Linked DNA regions of Homo sapiens: region 1 is linked to region 2. Evidence: promoter capture Hi-C in 16 types of primary human blood cells and fetal thymus (Javierre and others, 2016). All regions are on one chromosome and are shown on one strand. Each heading gives the region's core, a stretch centred on a gene start or on the middle of the fragment in contact. The rest is flanking DNA. Distances are from core to core; before and after follow the strand shown. Region 1 overlaps ZSCAN1 (zinc finger and SCAN domain containing 1). Region 2 holds the start of ZIM3 (zinc finger imprinted 3).

What was found. The method cuts DNA at HindIII sites, captures the fragments that hold promoters and counts their contacts. A CHiCAGO score of 5 or more calls a contact.
Region 1: a contact is called between a fragment that was not itself captured here and the fragment with the promoter of ZIM3 in region 2, in 1 of 17 cell types (non-activated CD4 T cells). The highest score is 6.5, in non-activated CD4 T cells.

The regions. Positions count from the first base shown.
Region 1 is chr19:58,044,024-58,050,767 of GRCh38, forward strand. All of the region lies in intron 4 of ZSCAN1 (zinc finger and SCAN domain containing 1), which reads left to right. It also overlaps the pseudogene LETM1P2 and the pseudogene HNRNPDLP4. Among named protein-coding and RNA genes, the nearest start is that of ZNF135, 12 kb to the right of the region's middle. The HindIII fragment of the contact is 1,070 bases long and covers 4,066-5,135 here.
Region 2 is chr19:57,140,358-57,146,451 of GRCh38, forward strand. ZIM3 (zinc finger imprinted 3) reads right to left here and starts at 4,845. Exons shown (of 5, transcript NM_052882.1): 1 at 4,502-4,845; 2 at 2,272-2,328. The coding sequence starts at 2,286. The HindIII fragment of the contact is 22,671 bases long and covers 4,806-6,094 here.

The DNA.
Region 1 (6,744 bases), core at 3,351-5,850, 900 kb after region 2:
ACTTTGGGAGGCCGCGGCGGGCGGATCACTAGAGGTCAGGCCTTCGAGACCAGCGTGGCCAACATGGTGGAACCTCGTCTCTACTAAAAATACAAAAAAATAGCTGGGCGTGGTGGTGTGCACCTGTAAGTCCAGCTACTCCGGAAGCTGAGGCAGGAGAATCGCTTGGATCCAGGAGGCGGAGGCTGCAGTGAGCCGAGATCACGCCATTGCACTCCAGCCCGAGCAACAGGAGCGAAACTCCGTCTCAAAACAAAACAAAACAAAAAACAACCTGTGTCATTTTAAAATAAATAAATGATACATCATTATCCCACAGAAAGGTTATGCTCTGGGGGCAGCAGAAATAAAAGCTTTGTTTTAAAGAAGCGGAAGAAGGATTAAACCTTTTTAAAAACCAAAAACATCGAAGCTGGGCGCCTCCTGTCCGAGGCCAACCGCTGCCGTCAACCGTCCGCACGGACGGCGCCTGAGGAGCCACCGAGACGGCGAAGAGCCGCGGCCGCCGCGGAGAAGGAGGAGGAGCCAGCGCAGGAGGCCCGAGCGGCCGCCACGCCCGGACACACGGCGTCCATCTTAATGAGGAGCTGCCGCGGCTGGGCGCCCGCCAGCCTCCCGCCGCCGCCTCGGGTCACCGCCCCGCGGGGTAGTCCGGGGGATCCTGCTCATCTCAGCTTGCCAGCACCCTGGGGTTGAGGAGCTGCCCGAAAGTTTCATTTGGCTGCTGCACTCCCACCCACCCTGCCTACCCGTGCTTCAGAGGCGATCACCTCAGCTGTTGGACTCTGAGGCCCGAGTGCCTTCGCACCGTGTCGAGAGCGCCATGGACCTCCACCTCTGTGGGTTTTGTGGTCCTGGGGCCTCGGTGCCTTCCTGCCCGCGGCTGGCACTCTTCGCGCCCTGTTGGTGATGACTCGGTAGTAGAGAAGTCCCTCAAGTCCTTGAAGGACAAGAACAAGAAGCTGGAGGAAGGCGGCCCTGTGTACAGCGCCCCCGCAGAGATGGTGGTGAAGTCCCGGGGGCAGAGAGGGTGCTGGGCGAGCTGAGGCACTACTACCATGGCTTCCGCCTGCTACGGATCCACACCAAGATCGCAGCACGCATGCTCTGGCGCATCCTCAACTGCCACACCCTGACCCGCCAGGCGCGCAGGCAGTTGCTCCGGTTCTGTGCCGACCTCTTCCGCCTGGTGCCGTTCCTCCTGTTCGTGGTGGTGCCGTTCGTGGAGTTTCTGCTGCCTGTTGCTGTGAAACTCTTCCCCAACATGTTGCCATCCACATCCGAGACTCAGTCCATCAAGGAGAAGAGGCTGAAGGAGCTTCAGGTCAAGCTGGAGCTAGCCGAGTTCCTCCAGGACACCATCCAGGAGATGGCCTTGAAGAACGAGGCAGCCAAGGGCAGTGCCACCAAAGACTTCTCTGTGTTTTTCCAGAAGATCCGGGAGACGGGGGAGAGGCCCAGCAATGAGGAAATCATGGGTTTTTCCAAATTATTTGAGGATGAGCTGACCCTTGACAACCTGACACGGCCGCAGCTGGTGGCCCTGTGCAAGCTGCTGGAGCTACAGCTTCCTGCGCTTCCAGCTCACGATGCGGCTGCGCTCCATAAAGGCAGAGGACAAGCTGTTTGCTGAGGAAGGGGTGGACAGCCTGAACGTCAAGGAGCTGCAGGCGGCATGTCGGGCACGAGGCATGCGGGCCCTGGGCGTCAGGGAAAACCACCTGAGGGGCCAGCTGAAGCAGTGGCTGGACCTGCACCTGCATCAGGAGATCCCCACATCGCTGCTCATCCTGTCCCGGACCATGTAGCTCCCGGACACCCTCTTGCCAGCCGACCAGCTCAAGTCCACACTGCAGACTCTCCCAGAGATTGTGGCAAAGGAAGCACAGGTGAAAGTGGCCGAGGTGGAGGGCAAGCAGGTGGACAAGGCCAAGCTAGAGGCCACACTGCAGGAGAAGGCGACCATGCAGTAGGAGCACCGCGAGAAGGAGCTGCAGAAGCATTCGGAGGTGGCGAAGGATGTTGAACCCGAATGTGTGGAAGGCGCTCCCCAAAGGCCAGGGGCCCAGCCCCAGCCAGAAGTGCCTGACACTGTCCTGCAGTCAGAGACCATGAAGGACACTGCCCCCGTGCTAGAGGGCTTGAAGGAGGAAGAGATGACTAAGGAGGAGATCAGCATCCTCAGCAATGCCTGCTCTAAGCTGCAGGAACAGAAGAAGTCACTCACCAGGAAGAAGGAGGAGCTGGAGCTGCTGAAGGAGGACATGCAGGACTACAGCGAGGACTTGCAGGAGCTCAAGAAGGAACTTTCAAAGACTGGTGAAGAAAAATACATGGAAGGATCTAAAGCCAGCAAGAGATTGACAAAAAGGGTGCAGCAGATAATCGGGCAGATCAACGGCTTGATCTCGCAGCTGGAGATGGACCAGTGGGCCAGCAAGCTGGCCCCGGCCAAGGGCGTGCCCATGGGGGAGAACGTCATCAGTGTTGCCGAGCTCATCAACGCCATGAAGCAAGTCAAGCACATTCCCAAAAGCAAGCTCACCAGCCTGGCCGCAGCACTGAATGAAAATAAGGATGGCAAGGTCAACGTCGACCACCTCATCAAGGTGATTGAGCTGGTGGACAAAGAAGATGTTCACGTCTCCACCAGTCAGGTGGCCGAGATTGTAGCAACACTGGAAAAAGAGGAGAAAGGGTGGAGAAGGAGAAGGTGGAGAAGGAGGTTGCAGAGGTGAAGAGCTAGAGCCACTGGCGTGGGCACCTGTCCTCCTGCTGCACTGCCACCCTGGTGAGGGCTGTGAGAGCGATTTGCGGTGATTCTTAGTGGCTCATCTAATACTTTGGCTGGAATAAATCAGAGACTTCCATAATCAAGTAAACTGTAATTTTCATCATTCCACGGAGCTTCAATCTGTCTGGAGTCCCAGAATCCCTCCACAGAATCCTGTCTGGATCCACACTGTGGTGTGGCTGCCACGGCCTCCTGGCTCCAGAGGCGGCTGGGCCAAGGCAGGAAGGTGCCCCCCTGTGTGTGGCCTCACGTCTCAGTGTCTGACTGTGCTGCCCTGTGCCCAGGGAGGAGAATGAGGACCACATGGACTCTGCCCACACGGAGCTGGCTGCTACGCCCACCCTCAGAGGCGTCAGGAGACACAGCCTGGCCCCCTCAGGGCTGAAGATGCCTCCATTCACCTGTGGACCTTGCTTTCTAGATTTCAGCATCAATAGACCTGTCTTCCTGCATGCTTTTAGTTGGATCTGGGTCACTGTGGAGACAGAGGTATCTGCCATCTCTGTGGCCTCTGGAGAGTGACGTCTCCCTGCTGGCAGGGCCGGTTCTCACCTGCAGTTTTCCTTGTGTATCGGAGCTCTTTCTTAACTTTCTATTTTCCCCCAATTCTTTAAGCAGTCGATTGGCACAGAGTTTTCCCACGCTGGTCGGCCTGCCCCAAGAGCCATCTCTGACCCAAGCCACGCAACTCTGACGTAGCCCTAGCCATGGGACTCCCTTGGGTGGTGCTTGGGCTGCGCGCCACGGGGGCTGCAGTGGATTTACTGTGTCAGGGATGAGCCTGGCTCGGGTTGGTGGGGCTCTGAAGCACATTTGGGGTTCTTTGTAGCTTCTAATGTGAGGTTTGAGTCCAGTGCACCCACAGCAGCATACCCTTCTCACCCCTTGTGGTGTTGCAGGCTCAGGCCCCTGGGGTCCTTTAACAAGCAGGCTGGTCACCGAGGCACGAAGACGAGGCACAGGGCATCCCCTGGGGCTTCAAGGGCAACACCCGCAGTGCTTAGGGTTTACCCTGTGCCCTCTGGGTGGGGTGGCCTCCCTGCACTCGGCAGCATGGTCGGGCTGGCGAGGGCGTGGGCAGGCAGTGTCCTGTGGCCACCTCCACCCTCCTGCCCAGCCGGCTGTGTCACACTCATATTTTTAAGGTCAGGTTGGTTCCTGGTAAAAATGTCCCTCCGGGGGCCTCCAAGCATAGGATTTGGAAGACATAGGAATGGCACAGGCAGCCAGGAAAGCAGCTGCGCTCAGACGATGCCTTCTCCATTACTTGAAGCTTCTTTTTGTTCAGCCATTAAAGAAACTTGACAAAATAGGAACAGGAGATATTTCTCAATTGTAAACCTTTGTGCAGGGACAGTTGGCTTCCAAAGCCTTTCAGATTTCAATTATTTGAGAAAGAAGTTTGTTTTAGATCCTTAATATTTATGAATTCTCAAAAAAAATCAATGTATAGACATTTTATAGCTTTAACCCTGCAAGTGTTTCAAGCTGTGTTTCTTAATTAGTATACTAACTGCCCTGGGGCATGTAGGTAAGTGTAAATGATGTGGTTTGAGCCAAGTTTTCATCTGTAATCCCACTGCTTGAGGTGGCCAAGGCCGGAGGATAAGCCAAGCCCAGGAGTTGGAGACCAGGCTGGACGATGGAGCGAGACCATGTTACTTTCTTTTTCTTTTTTCTGAGATGGAGTCTTGCTCTGTTGCCCAGGCTGGAGTGCCGTGGCATGATCTCGGCTCACTGCAACCTCCACCTCCTGGGTTCAAATGATTCTCCTGCCCCACAGACAAACGCCACTATGCCTGGCTAATTTTTGTACTTTTAGTAGAGATGGGGTTTCATTATGTTGGCCAGGCTGGTCTCGAATTCCTGACCTCAAGTGATCTACCTGCCTTGGCCTCCCAAAGTGCCAGGATGATGGCGTGAGCCACCGAGGCCGGCCCTTTTTACCTTTTTTTGAGACGGGGTCTCACTCTGTCACCCAGACTGGAGTGCAGTAGCACAGTTATAGCTCACTGCAGCCTTGACCACCGAGGCTCAAGTGATCCTCCCATCTCAGCTAGAATTACAGGCTTGAGCCACAGTGCCTGGTAATTTTCTAATTTTGTAGAGTTGGGACTTAGCTATGTTGCCTACACTGGTCTTGAACTCCTGTTCTCAAGCAATTCTCCAGCCTCAGCCTTAGCCTCCCAAAGTGGTGGGATTCTAGGTGTGAGCCACTGTGCCTGGCCTTTAAAATTTTCAATCTCCCCAAAGCCTCCAAAATATTCTTTAGTTAGTTCTTCAGAAGTAGCTGGGCTCAATCCACCCACGAAAACCTTTCGGGGGGTTCTTTCCCTTTTCAAGCTTTGGCTCTTTGCAGCAGGGGTGGGGGGTGATCCTATCAATTTGCCATCCAGCTCCTGTTCTTTCCGTTCCAAGGCCTTAAGAGCACTAGCAGCGTTTTCCAAAAGCACAGATACAAATCCCCTTGATCTTCCAGTAACTGTTTTAACTGTGCAATCTGCAACTTCCCTAAGTCAAGACACATCGTCAGATCTTTTTGCTTGTAACACTGTACCATCATCCGGCAGATCTTGGATCCCTCTGCGATTTCCTCTGTATTGGTTGTGGTACTCATTCAGGTCTTTGCTGGTGGAGAAGTTGTAGGCGGGGGGTGCTGGTGCACATTCAGGGTCAGGCAGCAGCTTATGCTACGGAGTTGGATTTCAAATGGTGGTGGAAGAGAGTCATTATAATTTTACGAGATCACTGTGGTGTGTGTGGTCCATTGTTGACTGAAACACCATTACCCCATGGGGAGGGGCTGCCTGAAGCCTGTAAGGGTAGCTGCCCGAAGCCCTTTGAGGGTAGCACTCTAAGGTCCCTGAGATCCCATGGGCGTATCTCCCTGAGGCCCTGGCGGGAATGACTGTTGGAACCTCAGTGGTAAGTGATGCCAGTGTCCTCTGTGGAACACACTGCTGGGGTCCCTGGTGGTTCCCACCGCGTAGCTGATACTCGTGGCCCCTGCTTTTCTTCTTTGTGCATAGCGATCTCCTGGCATCTCAGGTATGCATTATCTCACCGGTGAGCTTTTTCTTGTGGGCATTCTCGGGTTTTTTCACTTTACTCCACTGTGTTGCTGCAGATCTTCAATGGGTCCTTGAGCGTTCTGGGCTATTCTGGCTTGTGAATATCTGTCTGTAGTTGATTTGTGTGTGGGTAGTGGGAGGGGGAAATGAAGGTTGGTATCTCCTACTCCACCATCTTGGTGATGTCGCTCCACTCTTTCCTTTTTTTTTTTTCCAAAATAACCCAGCACCATTGCCCCAACTAAAACCATTAAGATAATTCCTGGCCGGACACGGTGGTTCATGCCTGTAATCCCAGCACTTTGGGAGGCCGAGGTGGGTGGATCACTAGAGGTCAGGAGTTCAGGACCAGGCTGGCCAGCATGGTGAAGCCTCGTCTCTACCAAAAAATACAAAAATTAGCTGGGTGTGGTGGCACGTGCCTATAGTCCCAGCTACTCGGGAGGCTGAGGCATAAGAATCGCTTGAACCCAGCGGGTGGAGGTTGCAGTAAGCCAAGATTGCGCCACTGCACTCCAGCCTGGGCGAAAGAGTGAGACCCTGTCTCTAAATAAATAAATAAAATAGAGCTATTAAGATAATTCCTCAACAACAGTAAGTTGCCAGGCATTCATATTTCCTCCTTTATTCTTGTTTCATTTTGTTTTGTTTGAGACGGCGTCTCGCTCTGTCGCCAGGCTGCAGTGCAGTGGTGCAATCTCAGCTCACTGCAACCTCCGCCTCCTGGGTTCAAACGATTCTCCTGCCTCAGCCTCCCGAGTAGCTGGGACTACAGGTGCACGCCACCACACTCAGCTAATTTTTGTATTTTTAGTAGAGATGGGGTTTCACCATGTTGGCCTAGATGGTCTCGATATCCTGACCTCTTCATCCTCCCGC
Region 2 (6,094 bases), core at 3,595-6,094:
GTAGAGACGGGTTTCACCATGTTGGCCAGGTTGGTCTCAAACTCCTGACCTCAAGTGATCTGCCCGCATCGGCCTCCCGAAGAGCTGGGATTAAAGGGATGAGCCACCGCACCCGGCCTTTTTTTTTAAATTTTTGACACAGGTTCTTGCTCTGCCACCCAGGCTGGAGTACAGTGGCATGATCATGGCTCACTGCAGCCTCAACCTCCCAGGATCAAGCAATCCTCCTACCTCAGCCTCCAGAATAGCTGGGACTACAGGCATGCACCACCATGCTAAGCTCATTTTTTATTATTTGTAGACAGGGTCTCACTATATTGTCCAGGCTGGTCTTGAACTCCTGGCCTCAAGTGGTCTTCCTGCCTTCGCCTCCCAAAGTGCTGGGATTACAGGTGTGAGCCACCACACCCAGCCTTAGTATGCCTTTCCTGTCAACAGGAAATTGGTCAACAGGCTTAATTTTAACAATTGCAAAGAAACTACTATCTGCCTAACTGCATACAACTTATCCTTGGTCTTTCAGCTATCCATAATTTACTTTGATTCCGACTGGTACTAGTTAATGATTTTTCAGTTTATTGTGTGGATTTACAGAATTTGTTTCAAATACACACCGAACAAAGTTGGGAGAGGACACACATTCAAGACACCAATCATTTAAAAAATAGGTTGGGGTGAAACACACATGACACTGTTACATCTCAGGGCTTAGCAGTGGACCAGGTTTGTAAGAGCAATGGTCAAAAGATGCTTGAGGCTGGGCGTGGTGGCTCACCCTTGTAATCCCAGAACTTTGGGAGGCTGAGGCGGGTGGATCACCTGAGGTCAGGAGTTCGAGACCAGCCCGACCAATATGGTAAAACCCCATCTCTACTAAAAATACAAAAATTAGCCGGGCGTGGGCGTGGTGGCGTGCGCCTGTAATCCCAGCTGCTCAGGAGGTTGAGGCAGGAGAATCGCTTGAACCTGGGAGGTGGAGGTTGCAGTGAGCCAAGATCAAGCCATTGCACTCCAGCCTGGGTGGCAGAGGGAGACTGTCTCAAAAAAAAAAAAAAAAAAAAAAACAACAAAACAAAGATGCTTGAGCTGAAACCAGCCCAGTAATCCCATAGACAGTTGTGGGTTTTTTGTTTTTTGTTTTTGTTTTTGTTTTTGTTTTTTGGATAAACATAGAAATTGACCCTTCCGCTGTTAAAGCTTGAAACCTGTATTTGTTTTGTCTGAGTTCCTTCCTCAGGAAAAGACCTTCAGATCTCTCAAAGGCAGGCAGATCACCTGAGGTCAAGATTTCGAGGCCAGCCTGGCCAACATGGTGAAGCCCCGTCTCTACCAAAAAATACAAAAATTAGCCAGGAGTGGTGGTGCGCACACCTGTAATCCCAGCAACTCAGGAGGCTGAGGAAGGAGAATCGCTTGAACCTGGGAGGCAGAGGTTGCAGTGAGCTGAGATTGCACCACTATACTCCAGCCTGGGTGACACAGCGAGACTCCCTCAAAAAAAAAAAATCAACTGAAACTCACCACAACTGAAACTCACCACAACAGATGTCTCCTTGCCCCCTCCCTAGTCTTGCTTTCTTACACATTGTTATATTTCTTCCATGCTGTATAAACCCCTAGTTTTAGTGAGTTAGGGAGATGGATTTGAGGCTGAGCTCCCATTTCTTCACCTACGGCAGCTGATTAAAGCTTCTTCCTTGGCAATACCCATTGTCTCAGTCATTGGCTTTCTGTGCAGCCAGTAGCAGGACCTAGACCAAACTCCTGGTGTTTCCGTAACCAAGCTTTTTTTTTTTTTTTTTTTGAGACAGGGTCATGCTCTGTCACCCAGGCTGGAGTGCAGTGGCACAATCATGGCTCACTGCAGCCTCAACCTCCCAGGTTCAAGCGATTCTCCCACCTCCGCCTCCAGAGTAGCTGAGACTACAGGTGTACGCCACCACCACCACACCCAGCTAATTTTTTGTAGAGACGGGATCTCGCCATGTTGCCCAGGCTGGTTTCAAACTCCTGAACTCAAGCGATCCGCCTGCCTTGGCCTCCTAGATTGCTGAATTACAGGTGTGAGCCACCATGCCCAGCCTTGAGCTTTACTTGAAATGTTTCAGCTTTAATAGGAAAGCAGAAAGTAGAGTGTGTGTTACCTTTTAATAGAAGTATGGAAGGAAGGAGGAAAATATGCCAAAAGGTTAGCACAGTTAATTCTGAGCAAGAGGAACGTGGGTCATACGTTTATTCATTATGAGATTTAGATTTTTTTGAAAAGCTCACCTGGGAATTGTTCATTTCCTGTTCTTCACCAGTCAGTAAAGTCTTGGGAAGGCAGATCTGAGGGAAAATGGAAAAGAACCATGAAATAGCAGAATTCGCTTTGGAAGTTGGGGATCATCCAGCATAGAATGCTCCACACCCTGGATAAAAGCTCTCCCTAACCCACTCAGAAAAGCCCTGACTTGTACCTCAGTGATCCCCTTCTGAAGGTCTTTTTTTTTTTTGTTTTGGTTTTTTTGTGTTTGTTTATTTATTGAGACTGGGTCTCAAAGAAGAAAGTGCAAGCCAGGCACGGTGGCTCACGCCTGTAATCCCAGCACTTTGGGAGGCTGAAGCAGGCAGATCACCAGAGGTCAGGAGTTCGAGACCAGCCTGTCCAACATGGTGAAACCCCGTCTCTACTAAAAATACAAAATTGGCTGGGCGCGGTGACTCATGCCTGTAATGCCAGCACTTTGGGAGGCCGAGGCAGGCGGATCACGAGGTCAGGAGATCAAGACCATCCTGGCCAACACGGTGAAACCCTGTCTCTACTAAAAATACAAAAACAAAATTAGCCAGGCGTGGTGGCGGGCGCCTGTAGTCCCAGCTACTCGGGAGGCTGAGGCAGGAGAATGGCGGGAACCCGGGAGGCGGAGCTTGCAGTGAGCCGAGATCGCGCCACCGCACTCCAGCCTGGGCGACAGAGCGAGACTCCGTCCCAAAAAAAAAAAAAAAGAGAGAGAGAGAAAGCTAAACAGCAGTTCAACAGCACCTTTAAAACAAGCCTGTGCAAAGACAATGAGGCAAGCATCAGATCAGCTAGAGCACAGTAAGGAAGGCCGAGAGCAGAAACCATGAATCCTGAAGCAGCTGTGGTCGTGACGAATAACGCCGCAGTGAACATGGGATGCAGATAGCCCTTCAGCTTTGCCATAAGCGGGACAGCTGGATCATTGGTAATTCTTTGCCAAAAGCGTAGATTTTGGCCACGCGTGGCAGCTCACACCTATAATCCCAGCACTTTGGAAAGCCAAGGTGGGAGGATCAGTTGAGCCCAGGAGTTACTTTTTTTTTTTTTTTTTTAAGACCAAGTCTTGCTCTGTCGCCCAGGCTGGAGTGCAGTGGCACAGTCTCGGCTCACTGCAACCTCTGCCTCCCGGGTTCAAGGGATTCCCCTGCCTCAGCCTCCCGTGTAGCTGGGATTACAGGCATGCACCACCATGCCCAGCTAATTTTTGCATTTTTAGTAGAGACAAGGTTTTACCATGTTGTTCAGGCTGGTCTCGAGCTGCTGATCTCAAGTGATCCGCCGGCCTCAGCCTCCCAAAGTGCTGGGATTATAGGCGTGAACCACCACATCCAGCCAAGCCCAGGAGTTTGAGACCAGCCTGTGCAACATAGTGAAACCTCTGTCTCAATGTTTAAGTAATAAAGTTTTTATTTTTTATTTTATTTTATTGAGGCAGGGTCTCATTCTGTCACCCAGGCTGGAGTGCAGTGATGTGATCCCGGCTCACAGCAGTTTAAAAATCCCTGGCTCAAGCAATCCTCCTACCTTGGCCTCCTGAATAGTTAAGACTATGGGTGCATGCTACCACATCAGCTAACTTTTTATTTTTTGTAAAGAAGGGATCTTGCTATGTCACCTAAACTGGTCTCAAACTCCTAGGCTCAAGCAATCCTCCTCCCTCAGCCTCCCCAAATCCTGGGATTACATGCATGAGCCACCACACCAGCCAGGAATAAAGTTTTAAATAAGTAAATATGTTTTTAAAAAGAATAAACTTGCCGGGCACAACTTTAATGTTTATTAAAGTTTGAGGAGTCCAATTCTAGCACAAAAAATATATATAATTTTAAAAAACAGTAAATTGTAAATGCTTTCACCACAAAAATAGATTAATTAGCTTGATTTAATCATCCCCCCAATGTAAACATGTATCAAAACATCACATTGTACCCCATAAATAAACACAATTATTATTTGTCAATAAAAAGTTTTTAGAAGTAGCTGTGGGCCAGCAGTAATGCTAAGGACTGGAGGGCCACGAAAATAATTTTGAGTGTCCTGGGAGCATCACTTTTCAATATGACAACTAAAAAAAAAATCTAAACTACCAATGTAAAATATTTAGCTTATTCCAGCAAATAGGAGAGGTAGAAAAATGAAACTAAGTAAAAATGCAAAACAAACAAACAAACAAAACCCAGACATTTGGTTTTCAGGGAGAAAAAAAAATCAGCTTACCTCCAGTGGAATCTGGCATAAATTAGCAAGTTGATTGATTTCTGATGCCTGTGGTCTTTTCTTCTGAAAGGGACTGAAAATGAAAAGGCGTGTATACTGAAAAGCTACACTAATGACTAAAACTTAATCGGCCCTCTACCCGCTGTATTCCGCATCATAATCCAGTCAAGAAACAACCCAAAACACTCACTTCCTATCAAAAGCCCCACCTGATCCTATCAGGCCACATCAAAATTTCAATTCCCAATTCTTTCCTCGACTTCTCCAAAACTGAATGAACTCTCATAAAAATTGTGATTGTGAAAGCTTAATTTTCAAATCTGCCCAATCAGTTTCCAATGGAATTTTTTTTAAGTTCATGCAAGTAAAAATTTTTTACCTTAACTTTGAAATAGAAAGCATGGAAAACATTATCCAAATGTCAGAGGATGAAAATAAATTAAAACAACAAAAATTGGCTGGGCACGGTGGCTCATGCCTGTAATCCCAGCACTTTGGGAGGACAGGAGTTCAAGACCAGCCTGGCCAACATGGGGAAACCCCGTCTCTACTAAAAATACAAAAATTAGCTGGTCATGGTGGCACGTGCCTGTAATCCCAGCTACTTGGGAGGCTGAGGCAGGAGAATCGCTTGAACCCGGGAGACGGAGGCTTCAGTGAGCCAAGATCGTGCCACTGCACTCCAGCCTGGGCAATGAGCGAGACTCCATCTCACGTCTCAAAAAAAAAAAAAGAAAGGAAAAGAAAAAAGAAATAGGGCCAGCGGAGGTGGAACAATGCCTTAAAGTGCTCTCCGCCCGACAGAAAGAATTCAGGCTCCAACCTCCAACTGGCAAAATCTCTTCAGCTGTACTAATACTCTCAAAATGAGATCAACATGCCAATCCATCCCCACCCTAGTCTGGGTGTTGAATTTAAACACAGGCTACATGCCCTTGCCTGCAGACATGGAGACCTTCCAAAATTGAGCGTCCAACTGAATTCCAAGAGATTAAACCAGACTTCATGGGACAGGATGCACCAGACTAGACCTCCTCCCAGGAGAAGAGGTATCCAAAGATCGTATTAGCAAATGACCCTTGGCGGTGTGCGGTGGCTCAAGCCTGTAATCCCAACACTTTGGGAGACTGAGGCAGACAGATCACCTGAGGTCAGGAGTTCAAGACCAGCCTGGTCAACATGGTGAAATCCTGTCTCTACTAAAAATACAAAAATTAGCTGGGCATGGTGGTACACACCTGTAGTCCCAGCTACTCAGCTACTCAAGAGGCTGAGGCAGAATTGCTTGAACCCAAAACACAGAGGTTGCTGTGAGCTGAGATCATGCCACTGCACTCCAGCCTGGGCGACAGAGGGAGACTCCATCTCAAAAAAAAAAAAAAGAAAAAAAAAGCAAAATGACCCAGCCAGCCTGAATCCCAGCCGCCGTGTCGGACTACTATAGTCCCAGATACTTGGAAGGCTGAGGTGGGAGGATCAATTGAGCCCAAGAGGTCAAGGCTGCAGTGAGCAAGGATCTTGCCACTGCATTCCAGCCTGAGAGACAGAGCAAGCCTGCAGGTGAACGGAAAGGGGTGGAGTGATTTTATATAT